2 separate regions of the Homo sapiens genome follow, and region 2 is linked to region 1. Evidence: promoter capture Hi-C in human tissues and cell types (Jung and others, 2019). All regions are on one chromosome and are shown on one strand. Each heading gives the region's core, a stretch centred on a gene start or on the middle of the fragment in contact. The rest is flanking DNA. Distances are from core to core; before and after follow the strand shown. Region 1 holds the start of RAD23A (RAD23 nucleotide excision repair protein A). Region 2 holds the start of MRI1 (methylthioribose-1-phosphate isomerase 1).

The links. The method cuts DNA at HindIII sites, captures the fragments that hold promoters and counts their contacts. A contact is called where the count stands out against the background at its distance.
Region 2: a contact is called between the fragment with the promoter of MRI1 here and the fragment with the promoter of RAD23A in region 1, in 1 of the 25 tissues and cell types used here (spleen).

What each region holds. Positions count from the first base shown.
Region 1 is chr19:12,941,192-12,948,488 of GRCh38, forward strand. RAD23A (RAD23 nucleotide excision repair protein A) reads left to right here and starts at 4,671. Exons shown (of 9, transcript NM_005053.4): 1 at 4,671-4,829; 2 at 6,657-6,818; 3 at 6,986-7,167. The coding sequence starts at 4,758. CALR (calreticulin) reads left to right here. Exons shown (of 9, transcript NM_004343.4): 8 at 2,346-2,438; 9 at 2,522-3,298. The coding sequence ends at 2,722. RefSeq lists enhancers at 4,449-5,141, 4,553-4,772, 6,088-7,287 and silencers at 4,833-4,912, 4,923-5,112, 5,133-5,192, 5,164-5,458. The HindIII fragment of the contact is 31,996 bases long and covers 1-7,297 here.
Region 2 is chr19:13,763,135-13,769,999 of GRCh38, forward strand. It overlaps MRI1 (methylthioribose-1-phosphate isomerase 1), which reads left to right and starts at 1,388. Exons shown (of 6, transcript NM_001031727.4): 1 at 1,388-1,586; 2 at 1,737-1,975; 3 at 2,820-2,995; 4 at 5,427-5,603; 5 at 5,690-5,914. The coding sequence starts at 1,455. It overlaps YJU2B (YJU2 splicing factor homolog B), which reads left to right. Exons shown (of 10, transcript NM_030818.4): 10 at 1-155. RefSeq lists enhancers at 1-115, 2,585-3,214 and a silencer at 1,758-1,807. The HindIII fragment of the contact is 13,832 bases long and covers 1-6,865 here.

The sequences.
Region 1 (7,297 bases), core at 3,421-5,920:
CAATCACGGTACTTTGGGAGGCTGAGACAGAGGATTGCTTGAGGCCAGGAGTTACACAACTCAACCTAGCTTGGCAACACAGCGAGGAGACCCTATCTCTACAAAAAAAATTTTTTTTTTTGAGACAGAGTTTCACTCTTGTTGCTGAGGCTGGAGTGCAATGGCACGATCTCAGCTCACTGCGCCCTCCGTCTCCTGGTTTCAAGCGATTCTCCTGCCTCAGCCTCCGGAGTAGCTGGGATTACAGGCATGTGCTACTATGGATGCCAGGCTAATTTTTTTTTTTTTTTTTTTTTTTGAGACCGTGCCTTGCTCTGTCGCCCAGGCTGGAGTGCAGTGGTGTGATCTCTGCTCACTGCAAGCTCCGCACGACCCCCCAGGTTCACTCCATTCTTCTGCCTCAGGGTCCCGAGTAACTGGGACTACAGGCACCCCCCACCATGCCTGGCTAATTTTTTTGTATTTTTTTTTTTAGTACAGACATGGTTTCACCGTGTTAGCCAGGATGGTCTCCATCTCCTGACCTCATGAACCACCCACCTTGGCCTCCCAAAGTGCTGGGATTACAGGCGTGAGCCACCTCACCCAGCCTTTTTGTAGAGACAGGGCTTCATGTTGCCCAGGTTGGTCTCGAACTCCTGGCCTCAGGTCATCTGCCCGCCTCGGCCTCCCAAAGTGCTGGGATTACAAGGGTTAGCCACCATGCCTAGCCTCTACAAAAACTTTAAAAATTGGCGAGATGTCATGCATACCTGTAGTCCCAACTACCAAGGAAGAAGGATGATCACTTGAGCCTGGGGCATCGAGGCTGCAGTGAGCCATGATTATGTCACTGCACTCCAGCCTCGGTGACAGAGTGAGACCCTCTCAAAAAAAGTTGGGACTTGGCCGGACACAGTGGCTCACACCTGTAATCCCAGCACTTTGGGAGGCCAAGGCGGGTGGATCACAAGGTCAGGAGATGGAGACCATCCTGGCTAACATGGTGAATGAAACCCCATCTCTAGTAAAAATACAAAAAATTTGCCAGGTGTGGTGGTGGGCGCCTGTAGTCCCAGCTACTCGGGAGGCTGAGGCAAAAGGATGACGTGAACCCGGGAGGCGGAGCTTGCAGTGAGCTGAGATCATGCCATTGCACTCCAGCCTGGGTGATAGCGAGACTCTGTCCCAAAAAAAAAAAAAAATGCTGGGACTGAATTTTTGTCTGTTTTGGTCACTGAAATACCTTCTGTGCCCAAGACAGTTCTGGCATGTAGTAGGTACCTGAAAAATACCTGAATAAGAGAGTGAGAAACAAGAAACAGGTGCAGAGAACTGAAGTCAGTGGCCCAAGGTCATGGGGGTAGGAAACCACAAAGCTGGGGTTTGAACCTGGGCAGTACAGCACCTGAGTCTCTCCATCTTTTTTTTTTTTTTTTTTTAAGACAGAGTCTTGCTCTGTCACCCAGGTTGGAGTGCAGTGGCTTGATCTCGGCTCACTGCAGCCTCTGCCTTCCAGGTTCAAGTGATTCTCATGCCTCATCCTCTCGAGCAGCTGGAATTACAGGCATGCGCCACGACGCTGGGCTTTTTTTTTTTTGAGATGGAATTTCACTCTTGTTGCCCAGGCTGGAGTGCAATGATGCAATCTCGGCGGCTCACCACAACCTCTGCATCCCAGATTCAAGCGATTCTCCTGCCTCGGCCTCCTGAGTAGCTGGGATTACAGGGATGCGCCATCACAGACCCCGGGCTAATTTTTTTTAGTAGAGACAGAGTTTCACTATGTTGCCCAGGTTGGTCTCGAACTCCTGGCCTCAAGTGATCCGTTCGCCATGACCTCCCAAAGTGCTGGGATTACAGGCATGAGCCCGTCCCGTCCCTGGCTGTCTCTCCATCTTTCCATCTTTTTTTTTTTTTTTTTTTTTTTTGGAGATGGAGTCTCACTCTGTCACCCAGGCTGGAGTGCAGTGGCACGATCTTGGCTCACTGCAAGCTCCGCCTCCTGGGTTCACATCATTCTCCTGTCTCAGCCTCCCAAATAGCTGGGACTACAGGCACTTGCCACCACGCCTGGCTGATTTTTTGTATTTTTAGTAGAGACGGGGTTTCACCGTGTTAGCCAGGGTGGTCTCGATCTCCTGACCTCGTGATCCGCCCACCTTGGCCTCTGGGCGAGGATTACAGGCGTGATCCACCTCACCTGGCCTCTCCATCTTTTTAACTGCAGTGTCAGCGGTGTTCCTTGTCTTCTCTGCAGATGCAGGCAGCAGAATATAGTGGTTATAGGAACACAGGTGGAAACCCTGTCCAAAGCAAGGGCTATCGGGTATCACCTCTGACCATCCTTCCCATTCATCCTCCAGGTCAAGTCTGGCACCATCTTTGACAACTTCCTCATCACCAACGATGAGGCATACGCTGAGGAGTTTGGCAACGAGACGTGGGGCGTAACAAAGGTGAGGCCTGGTCCTGGTCCTGATGTCGGGGGCGGGCAGGGCTGGCAGGGGGCAAGGCCCTGAGGTGTGTGCTCTGCCTGCAGGCAGCAGAGAAACAAATGAAGGACAAACAGGACGAGGAGCAGAGGCTTAAGGAGGAGGAAGAAGACAAGAAACGCAAAGAGGAGGAGGAGGCAGAGGACAAGGAGGATGATGAGGACAAAGATGAGGATGAGGAGGATGAGGAGGACAAGGAGGAAGATGAGGAGGAAGATGTCCCCGGCCAGGCCAAGGACGAGCTGTAGAGAGGCCTGCCTCCAGGGCTGGACTGAGGCCTGAGCGCTCCTGCCGCAGAGCTGGCCGCGCCAAATAATGTCTCTGTGAGACTCGAGAACTTTCATTTTTTTCCAGGCTGGTTCGGATTTGGGGTGGATTTTGGTTTTGTTCCCCTCCTCCACTCTCCCCCACCCCCTCCCCGCCCTTTTTTTTTTTTTTTTTTAAACTGGTATTTTATCTTTGATTCTCCTTCAGCCCTCACCCCTGGTTCTCATCTTTCTTGATCAACATCTTTTCTTGCCTCTGTCCCCTTCTCTCATCTCTTAGCTCCCCTCCAACCTGGGGGGCAGTGGTGTGGAGAAGCCACAGGCCTGAGATTTCATCTGCTCTCCTTCCTGGAGCCCAGAGGAGGGCAGCAGAAGGGGGTGGTGTCTCCAACCCCCCAGCACTGAGGAAGAACGGGGCTCTTCTCATTTCACCCCTCCCTTTCTCCCCTGCCCCCAGGACTGGGCCACTTCTGGGTGGGGCAGTGGGTCCCAGATTGGCTCACACTGAGAATGTAAGAACTACAAACAAAATTTCTATTAAATTAAATTTTGTGTCTCCCTCCTGTGTCTCCTTCTGGGGAAAGACAGACTTAAGGAAACCCAGCAGTGGTCTTTTTGGGGGGGGGGGGGGTTTCCAGTATATCTCCTTTTTCAGCTATTGCTAGAGAGGTTGCTGAGTGTTCCACAAGATTCCAGGGACCCTTATTTACCCCATAACCCTCAAAACCAACGGGGGAATGGCTGTTGCTGCTGTAAATACTCCACATACTAACTTACTGAATCCTTGAACCTAACTGGTAAGTTTTGGTTCTGCTTATTTATTTATTTTTAAGATAGACTCTCGCTCTGTTGTCCAGGCTGGCGTACAGTGGCTCAATCTGGTTCACCCTGCCCCTTAAACTGGCCTTTTTCATGCTTCTATTCCTTTGGGGTCCTGTGGCTCAGCCCAACCCCTCTGGGATGCCTCCAGGACTGGTAGATCCAAGGGAGAATTCTGTATTTAATGTAGTGAGGCTTTGAAAGTTAACATCTTTAAATACTTCTGGGGTCAGATTAGGTATAGTACAACAAAGTACTCCTGCCCGGAGACCCAAGAATGAAAATTGTAGGTTCATTCCAAAACTCCAGATCCCTAAAGAATGAATGAGGCTACAAAATGGCACCTTGCCCCCGCTTCCAACTTAAGGTTTTTTTTCTGTGCTTGGTGGCCTTTCAGGTATTTCTAGTTTTGAGTAACTTTCACTTTGACTGCTCTACAAGGGTTCCTGCCAGGATACCCAGACCAGAATAAAACTCATTTGGGGGCCGGGTACGGTGGTTCACGCCTGTAATCCCAGCACTTTGGGAGGCCGAGGCGGGTGGATCACCTGAGGTCAGGAGTTTTGAGACCAGCCTGGCCAACACGGTGAAACCCAATACAAAAAATTATCCGGGCGTGGTGGGGGGTGCCTGTAATCCCAGTTACTCGGGAGGCTGAGGCAGGAGAATTGCATGAACCCGGAAGGCGGAAGCTGCAGTGAGCCGAGATCGCGCCACTGCACTCCAGCCTGGGTGACAGAGACTGTTTGAAAGAAAAAATTCTCATTTGGAAGAGGCAAAATGAGGTTTTTACAGAAGAAATACAAATGTCTGTAACCAGTACAGGTACATAAAAACTTTGTTAAAAATTCATTTGAGCGTGAGAGTGGGGACACCAGAGTCACTTTGCAGCCCCGTGACGTCACCGATAACGGGCATGGCGTCACTCAGGAGACCACGTGTGCGGGCCGAGCAAGAAGCCCCGCCCACAGCGCGGAGTTTAGTCTGCGCGTGCCTCGCTCGAGAACGCGCTCGTGCGCATGCCCACAAAGGCCAAGGAGGGAGTGCGCAGGTCACGTGCGCCGGTGGTCAGCGCGCGCATTGCCTGCCCCGGAAGTGGTCGGCGCGCGGCGCGGCGCGCCTGGGCGCTAAGATGGCGGCGGCGTGAGTTGCATGTTGTGTGAGGATCCCGGGGCCGCCGCGTCGCTCGGGCCCCGCCATGGCCGTCACCATCACGCTCAAAACGCTGCAGCAGCAGACCTTCAAGATCCGCATGGAGCCTGACGAGACGGTGCGGGCCGGGCCGGAGCCCGGGGGCGGGAGCGACGGGTTTCGGGGGTGGGGTGGGGGCGGGGAGGCTAGAATCCCAACGGGAGGGGCAGGGAGGACGGCGCGGGTCGGCCCTGCCCAGACCCCCGACCTGCCCGACTTTCCTGGACCCCCCGATGGTCTTTGGCCCAGCCCCCAGCCGATCGGGCGGCGCTCCTGCGCCGGTCTCCGGGCGAGGCCCCACCCCCGGGGCGCTGGCCAGGCCCCGGCTCCAATGTCAGCGCTCTCGCGGGGCGCGGGAGTCACAAGCTCGGATTCCTGGGCAGGCCAAGCTCTCCAAGACTGGGCTCCACGTTCCCAGCTTTGCAGGCGTCTCCTTGGGACACTGGTGGTCGAATCTAGGAGTAATGACCAGGAGATACTGAGTAGTGACGACAACAACGATGTTAATGATAATAAACGGGTCTCAGTCTTTATAATTTTGGTGGTCCGTGTTTGTTGGCCGTTTACTTTTTATCAGTCACCGAGTGTTGTAGTGTTGTTTTACCGCTCTGCAAAACGGGCTTGTCATTGGGGACCTCTGATCATTTTACAGATGTGGAAACCTAGGGATTGAGGAACTTTGCCACAGTCACACACAAGTAATGGCAGAGCTGGGATTCAAATTCGGTTCTGCCTCGTGTGAGCGTCCACGATATAAATATTATGCTGCCTTTTTAGTCAAAAGTAGAATTAGGACCTAATTCAAACATACTGAATGTCTATTGGGTACTTGGCGCTTTTTGCATAGTGAGGGAGACATTGAAGTCCACTTTTTGTAGAAAAGGAAACACACATTTTTTGATCCGCTCAAGTGTTTGGCTTTGGGCAAGTTAACCTGCCTACCTGTCTGTGCCTCCGTTTTCTCAAATATCAAATGAACCGGTCGCCTGCTGGCTTCCGCCTGTAATCCCAGCACTTAGGGAGGCAGAGGGAAGAGGAGCCCTTGAGCCTAGGAATTCGAGATCATCCTGGCAACACAGTGAGACCCCGTTCTCTACAAAAAAAAGAAACAAAAATCAATAAATAAAATGAGACCAATTAAACGTATTTCATAGGAAACTTAAAAGGTATGACACATATACATTTACAGTAGCACTATTGGCCAGGCACGGTGGCTCATGCCTCTAATCCTGATGATTTGGGAGGCAGAGGCAGGAGGATTGCTTGAGGCCAGGAGTTTGAGACCAGCCAGTCTAACATAGGGAGACTCTTATCTACAAAAAAAAATTATTTTTAATTAGTCTGGAGTGGTGGTGTGTACCTTTAGTCCTAGCTACTCCCAAGGCTGGACAAGAGTACCAGTTGAGCCCAGGAGTTTGAGGCTGCAGTCAGCGATGATCGTGCCACATCAATCCAGCATGGGCGGCAGCGAGATCCTGCCTCTTAAAATTAAAAAATATCACTATTAACTATTAGTCACTTATTGTCCAAGGTAGAGTGTAGAGTGGGGGACTGTCCCCTTTATTCTGTTAATTATACTTTATACTACCCGAAATTACATTTTCTTCACATTAGTGTTCTCTCATTGAGAGCAGGGACTTACTTGTGTTGAGTTTGTTCTGTGCTGTGGCCTCTGTGTCTAAAACAGCACCTGGCACATAATGGGTGTTTAGTATAAGTAAATACTGTGTTGAATGGCATGATGATTGAATGAATTCAAATCTAGCATGCTTTAGATGCTGAGAAAGCTTAAAAAACCCAGCGTGCTTGCCTTTCTGCCATCAGGGCTGGCAGTTTCTCTGTCCTAAACTAGAAGGGAAAAGAGAATCTTGGGGTCTCCAGTGACTGTCTGTACCACTCCCTCTAGGTGAAGGTGCTAAAGGAGAAGATAGAAGCTGAGAAGGGTCGTGATGCCTTCCCCGTGGCTGGACAGAAACTCATCTATGCCGGCAAGATCTTGAGTGACGATGTCCCTATCAGGGACTATCGCATCGATGAGAAGAACTTTGTGGTCGTCATGGTGACCAAGGTGGGTGACGTGTGCTGGCTGGGAGGGTGGGTGGACGAGCTGGGGAGCTGGCAAAGAGCCTGTGTGCCCAGGAGAGATTAGCTGTGAACAGGGCGGGGCCACAGCGGAGCGGGTTGTTGGGTCTGATAGGGTTGCTGATGCCAGCTCCCTTTTTCTTGCTGTTGCAGACCAAAGCCGGCCAGGGTACCTCAGCACCCCCAGAGGCCTCACCCACAGCTGCCCCAGAGTCCTCTACATCCTTCCCGCCTGCCCCCACCTCAGGCATGTCCCATCCCCCACCTGCCGCCAGAGAGGACAAGAGCCCATCAGAGGAATCCGCCCCCACGACGTCCCCAGAGTCTGTGTCAGGGTAAGGCGGGGGCAGCAGTCCCAGCTTGGGCCCTGTCCTCCTAGCACATTCCAGCGTCCACATAAGTGGTCCCACACACCTGGAGGGAGGGCAAGCCGCCAGAAGCCAGGGTCCGATTTCTCTCTCTTGA
Region 2 (6,865 bases), core at 138-2,637, 820 kb after region 1:
ACTGCAGACCCCCGGCTCGCCCACCAGCCCTGGGAGAGCTCAGATGCCGCATCCTCCCCAGACCGCGCCTTCCTGCAACCGTGGAGTTATTTATTTGGTCCTGGTGAGGGTGTTTGTGCCTTGTGAGACTCCGTACATTAAAGACCTGTCTCTTCTTCCCTGTCTTGGGTTGTTAGATGGACCCTGGGGCTGCCCCCCCACCCCCCCACCTTGACCAAGCTTGGTAGGCCTCTCATCAGCAAATGCTGGTATAGGGTCATAGCTGTGACCACAGACATGGTCCCCTTCCAGAGTAACAAGAGTCTCAAGGTGGTGGTCCCGGTTGGCCAGGAATCAGGACAGACTTCCTGGAGGAGGAGGCATGGGCCAAGTGTGAAGGGTGAAAAGGGGGCCAGGAACCACACACACAAGGCCAGGGACAAGGCACACGGGGTACCCAGGATGTGTGCCAGATGCAGCAGGGGCTGGAGCACACAGGTGTGAGCTTTTTATTATACCCAGCCCAGGGGTGGCCCATGGAAAAGCCCCCCGTGCATGTTACTTTTGGGGTTTTTTTGTTTTGTTTTTGAGACCGAGTCTTGCTCTGTCACCCAGGCTGGAGTGCAGTGGCGCGATCTCGGCTCACTGCAACCTCTGCCTCCTGGGTTCAAGTGATTCTTCTGCCTCAGCCTCCCGAGCAGCTGGGACTACGGGTGTGCGCCACCACGCCCAGCTAATTTTTTGTATTTTTAGTAGAGACTGGGTTTCACCATGTTGGCCAGGCTGGTCTCGAACTCCTGACCTCAAGTGATCTGCCCGACTCGGCCTCCCAAAATGCTGGGATTCCAGGCGTGAGCCACAGCGCCTGTCCTGCATGTTACTTTTGAATGAAACCGAGCAGAAAATGGCCCAGAAACAGCCTTGCATCCATCAAGGGGCACACGACCCCCCACTACCTCCCCCTCAACCTTGGAAGATCATTTAACAAATTCTTTGGTTTGAACACTTGATGTTACCTTGCCACTGGGGATACATCCCTAACTCTAGACAGCAGGTTGTTAAACACGGGGCCTGGTATCCACTAGGCGTCCCATAAATGCTGCCACTTTTGTGGTTCCGAGGAGGCGGCTCACTCCGTTCGGGCTTGGCAGGAGTCGTGGAGTGGGTTCGGCCACGTGGAATCCGCGTCCTGGGAACCCGTGGAATCCGCGTCCTGGGAACCCGTGGAATCCGCCTCCTGGGAACCCGTGGAATCCGCCTCCTGGGAACCCGTGGAATCCGCCTCCTGGGAACCCGTGGAATCCGCCTCCTGGGAACCCGTGGAATCCGCCTCCTGGGAACCCGTGGAATCGGGTTGGATGCGCATGTGCGTGTCTCTTTTTCCGGGGGAGGCTCCGCCCACGGCCCCGCCCCGCTCCCAAGTGCGCGCGGACCCCTAGCTCCCTCTGAGTTGCGCTGGGCTTGGCTGCTGCACCATGACCCTGGAGGCGATCCGCTACTCGCGGGGCTCCCTGCAGATCCTAGACCAGCTGCTGCTGCCCAAGCAGAGCCGCTACGAGGCGGTGGGCTCGGTGCACCAGGCCTGGGAGGCCATCCGCGCCATGAAGGTGCAGCGGGGCGGCGGGGCGGCGGGGCGGCGGGGCGGCGGGGCGGCGGGGCGGCGGGGCGGCGGGGCGGCGGGGCGGCGGGGCGGCCGGGTTGGAGGTGGGAGTGCGCCCGCGCCTGCAGCTTCCGACGCCCAAATCCCTGCCCCGCAGGTGCGGGGCGCCCCGGCCATAGCCCTGGTGGGCTGTCTCAGCCTCGCCGTGGAGCTGCAGGCGGGCGCCGGGGGACCGGGACTCGCCGCGCTCGTGGCCTTCGTGCGCGACAAGCTGAGCTTCCTCGTCACCGCCCGGCCCACCGCTGTCAACATGGCCCGCGCCGCCCGCGACCTGGCTGATGTTGCAGCCCGGGAGGCCGAACGGGAGGGCGCTACGGAAGAGGCGGTCCGGGAGAGGTACGGGGATCTGGTACCAGGCACGGCGCTGAGCAGGAATTATATTGACTCTTTTTAAGTACAGTGACCCACTATACAGATGGGGAAACTGAGGCACGGCGACCTTAAGTCCCTTGTCCAGGGCCCCACAGATGGGGAGACTGAGGCACGGCGACCTTAAGTCCCTTGTCCAGGGCCCCACAGATGGGGCCCAGAGTCTAGCCTGGGCAGCCTGGCCCTGAAACCTAACTCCTTAATCGTGCCTCCCCTGAATACACGCAGCCCCTTATCCGCCCTTGGAGGCCCTTTTTAGTATCTCCGTGTTCTCTTGGTTTCTGCTTTTGAGGAACTTTTTTTCCTGTCCTGGTCCCCTTCCTGCCATCTTTTTCCCCCCACTTCCTTTCTGCTCCAGCCCTCCCTGCAATGTCACTTTACCCCACCAAGCTCGAGCCTGCCTTACAGCCTTTGCACGTGCCATTGGTGCGGGCCAGGTATCCATAGCGCCCTCCTCCACCATTCTATATGATCCAGCTCACCCGCTGCTCTCTGTTGCCTGATTCTGCCGGCTTTTCCTTCATTTTATTATCTCTTCATCAGCTGGCTCACTCACCCCAGTGTCAACTCCACAGGAGCAGAGATTTTTGTCTTGTTTACTGCTGGGTCATACCGGAACTGCTTGGTAAACATGTCTTTGCATGAATGAACGGAGTGACACTTCGGTGGCCCTGGCCGAAGGGTCCAGGCCCCACAGCAATGAGAGGCTTTGAGCAGGAGGGCTCCAGGACAGCAGCGTTAGGCAGAGAGGAGGCGTTGGCCTGGGCCCCGGGTCCTGGTGGCTGGTGCTGAAAACTCCTTGTCACCCCAGAGTGATCTGCTGCACCGAGGACATGCTGGAGAAAGACCTCAGAGACAACCGAAGCATTGGGGACCTAGGAGCCCGCCACCTCCTGGAGCGGGTGGCCCCCAGCGGTGGCAAGGTGACTGTGCTGACCCACTGTAACACTGGTGCTCTGGCCACCGCTGGCTATGGTACAGCCCTAGGTGAGAGGGCCTCCTCAGGGGGTAGGGGAGGGCCTTCTAGGAACTTTTTTAGATACAAGAGAAAGAATCCCAAACCCAAACCACTTTATCCACAAAAAAAATGGGAAGGTACTAGTTCTAGTACGGAAACACTTATACAGTTGGCTTCAGGTATGGCAAGATCAAGGGGCTCAACCAGTAGCATCAGGACCTATCTATCTCTGTGCTTCAGCTCTGCCCTCCTTCATCTTCAGGTTCCATGGGCTGGCAGGCGGCTGTTAGGGTCCAAATCATGAGGAAAAGAGCCTCCTATACTAGAAAAGTCTCCTTGTATCTCAGGGGGTCCACTAGGGCACCTGCCCATCCCAGAGCAGTCATTCGATGGGCCCCGCCTGAGCCATATGCCTAGAGCCAGGGCAGGACGTGGACTCCAGGAGGAACTGGGGAGAAGGGAGTGAGCAGAGAAAGATTAGGTAGCTGTGACCAGGAGACAGGGGGAGTGGGCTGTAGGGGGCCAAGGCAGCAGATTCCACTTGACCCTAAATTCACCAGGAAATTTCCCTACCTGCCTGAGTCCCACCTTCATCCCTGGGAACTGAGGCCTTAATGGAAAGACCTCTGCCTTTGATTCATTCACTCACCCAGCATTTAGTAAGCACCTGCTGTGGCTCAGACACCGCCATTTGCTGGGGACGCAGCAGTGAACAAAACAGACAAAATCTCTGCTCTCAGGGGTCCCAGGGAAGCAGAAGGAACAGTCAACAGGCAAAATAAGTACAGTCATCCTTCAATATCTGTGGGGGACTGGTTCCAGGACCTCCCACAGATACCAAAATCCATGGATGCTCAAGTCTCTGATATAAAAATGCCATCATATTTGCATGACCTATGCACATCCACATATATATATATATATATATATATATATATTTTTTTTTTTTTTTTTTTTTTTTTTTTTGAGACAGAGTCTTGCTCTGTCGCCCAGGCTGGTGCAGTGGCATGATCTCAGCTTACTACAACCTCTGCTTCCCGGGTTCAAGAGATTCTCATGCCTCAGCCTCCTGAGTGTCTGGGATTATAGGCGTGAGCCACTACGCCCAGCTAATTTTTATATTTTTAGTAGGGACGGGGTTTCACGACATTGGCCAGGCTGGTCTCGAACTTCTGACCTTAGGCGGTCCGCCAGCCTCGGCCTCCCAAAGTGCTGGGATTACAGACGTAAGCCACAGTGCCCAGCCCACCCCTATATTTTAAATCGTGTCTAGATTGCATATCATAGCTAGTCCCATGTAAATACTATGTAAATTGTTGTTACTGGCTAGGTGTAGTGGCGGTGCAGGCCTGTAATCAGGAGGCTGGGGTGGGAGGATTGCTTGAACTCAGAAGTTCTAGACCAGCCTTTGCAACACAGCAAGACCCTGTCTCTATTTTTAAGCCTGTAATGCCAGCACTTCGGGAGGCCAAGGTGGGCGGATCGCTTGAGCTCAGGGGTTCAAAACCAGCCTGGGCTTCATGGCAAAACCCCATCTCTACAAAAAATACTAAAATTAGCTGGGTGTAGTGGTATGCACCTGTGGTCCCACCTATTCGGGAGGGGACTGAGATGGGAGGATTGCTTTTTATTTATTTATTTATTTTGGAGACAGAGTCTTGCTCTGTCACCCAGGCTGGAGTGCCATGGCACGACCTTGGCTCCTTGCAACCTCTGCCTCCTGGGTTCCAGCGATTCTTTTCAAGTATTTTCTTTCTTTCCTTTTTTTTTTTTTTTTTTTTTTTTTGAGACAGAGTCTTGCACTGTTGCCCAGGCTGGAGTGCAGTGGCGCAGTCTCGGCTCACTGCAAGCTCCGCCTCCCAGGTTCACGCCATTCTCCTGCCTCCGCCTCTCGAGTAGCTGGGACTACAGGTGCCCGCCACCACGCCCGGCTAATTTTTTGAACTTTTAGTAGAGATGGGGTTTCACCGTGTTAGCCAGGATGGTCTCGATCTCCTGACCTCGTGATCCATCTGCCTAGGCCTCCCAAAGTGCTGGGATTACAGGCGTGAGCCACCACGCCCAGCCCAAATATTTTCAATCCACATGGTTGAGTCCATGGATGGAGAACCCATAGAAAAGGGGGGCTGCCTGTACACATGAGGTGTTAGAAGGTGATAAATGCTAAGGACAGAGAGCAGGAAACTGAAAGTGTGGGGATTGCTATGCAAAACTGATATATCAGGGAAGGCTTCACCGAGAAGGTGTCCTTTAAACAGACGTGAAACGGAGCTATGCGAGCATTGGGAAGAGCATACCAGGCAGAGGGAACTGCCACTGCGAGGGCCCCTGGGCGGGACTGTGCTCGGTAAGCCTTTGGCAATCCACGCCCAGACTAGGAGCCTGCACCCCTAACCAATGGACCACCCTGTCTGTTTGCCCCTCCCCGGGGCCTTCTCCTGGTGGGTGGGGCCCCCGCAGGTGTGATTCGCTCACTGCACAGCCTGGGCCGCCTGGAGCATGCCTTCTGCACAGAGACCCGGCCCTACAACCAGGGAGCCCGGCTGACGGCCTTTGAGCTGGTCTATGAGCAGATCCCCGCCACCCTTATCACCGACAGCATGGTGGCTGCTGCCATGGCCCATAGGGGCGTGTCAGGTAAGCAGACGGTAAGCCCTGGGGGCGGGGCTCTGGAGCATGGGGCCAGGTAATGACCCCCAACTTCTCATACGCCCCCTCCCCAGCTGTGGTCGTGGGAGCTGACCGCGTGGTTGCCAACGGCGACACAGCCAACAAGGTGGGCACCTACCAGCTGGCCATTGTCGCCAAGCACCATGGCATTCCCTTCTACGTGGCTGCCCCCAGCTCTTCATGTGACCTCCGTCTGGAGACCGGCAAGGAGATCATTATTGAAGAGCGACCGGGCCAGGAGCTGACCGATGTTAATGGGGTCCGGATTGCAGCACCTGGTAAGCTGCCCCCTCAGAAAGGGGACACCCCAGCTCCTGGGCACTTCATGGAGGCAGGTGATATGCAGGTCCTTGTCATCCTTCTGGAACATACACAGCTCCTACAAGCCACTTTTTCTTTTTTCTTTTTTTTGAGATGGAGTCTTGCTCTGTCCCTCAGGCTAGAGTGCAGTGGCACGATCTGGGCTCCCTGCAACCTCCACCTCCCGGGCTCAAGCAGTTCTCCTGCCTCAGCCCCCCAAGTAGCTGGGACTATAGGTGGGTGCCACCACGCCTGGCTAATTTTTGTATTTTTAGTAGAGATGAGGTTTCAACATGTGGACCAGGCTATTTATTAACTACTGACCTCAAGCAATCAGCCTGCCTCTGCCTCCCAAAGCGCTAGGATTACAGGTGTGAGCCACAGCACGCCTGGCCCAAGCCACTTCTTCTAACAGGTGCATCCTGGAGGTCAGATCCAATGTTGGAATTTACAACTAACCGGTTATATGAATGATCTTGAGTAACTGTCTTGCTATTCTCCACTTAGGTTTTCTTAAGAGGAAATAAGAATATCTGGCTGGCCACGTGTTTGTAAAGAAAAACCAAGACGGCCAGGCGAGGTGGCTCACACCTGTAATCCCAGCACTTTGGGAGGCCGAGGCGGGCAGATCACAAGGTCAGGAGTTCGAGACCAGCCTGGTCAACATAGTGAAACCCCGTCTCTACTAAAAATACAAAAATTAGCCGGACATGGTGGCACCCGCCTGTAGTCCCAACTACTCAGGAGGCTGAGGGAGGAGAATCACTTGAACCTGAGAGGCGGAGGTTGTGGTGAGCTGAGATTACACCATTGCACTCCAGCCTGGGCAACAGAGTGAGATTCTGTCTCAAAAAAAAAAAAGAAAAGAAAAAGCAAGATATTTCTACACTTATTTTTATTTGTTTATTTTCATAGAGATAGGGTCTCGC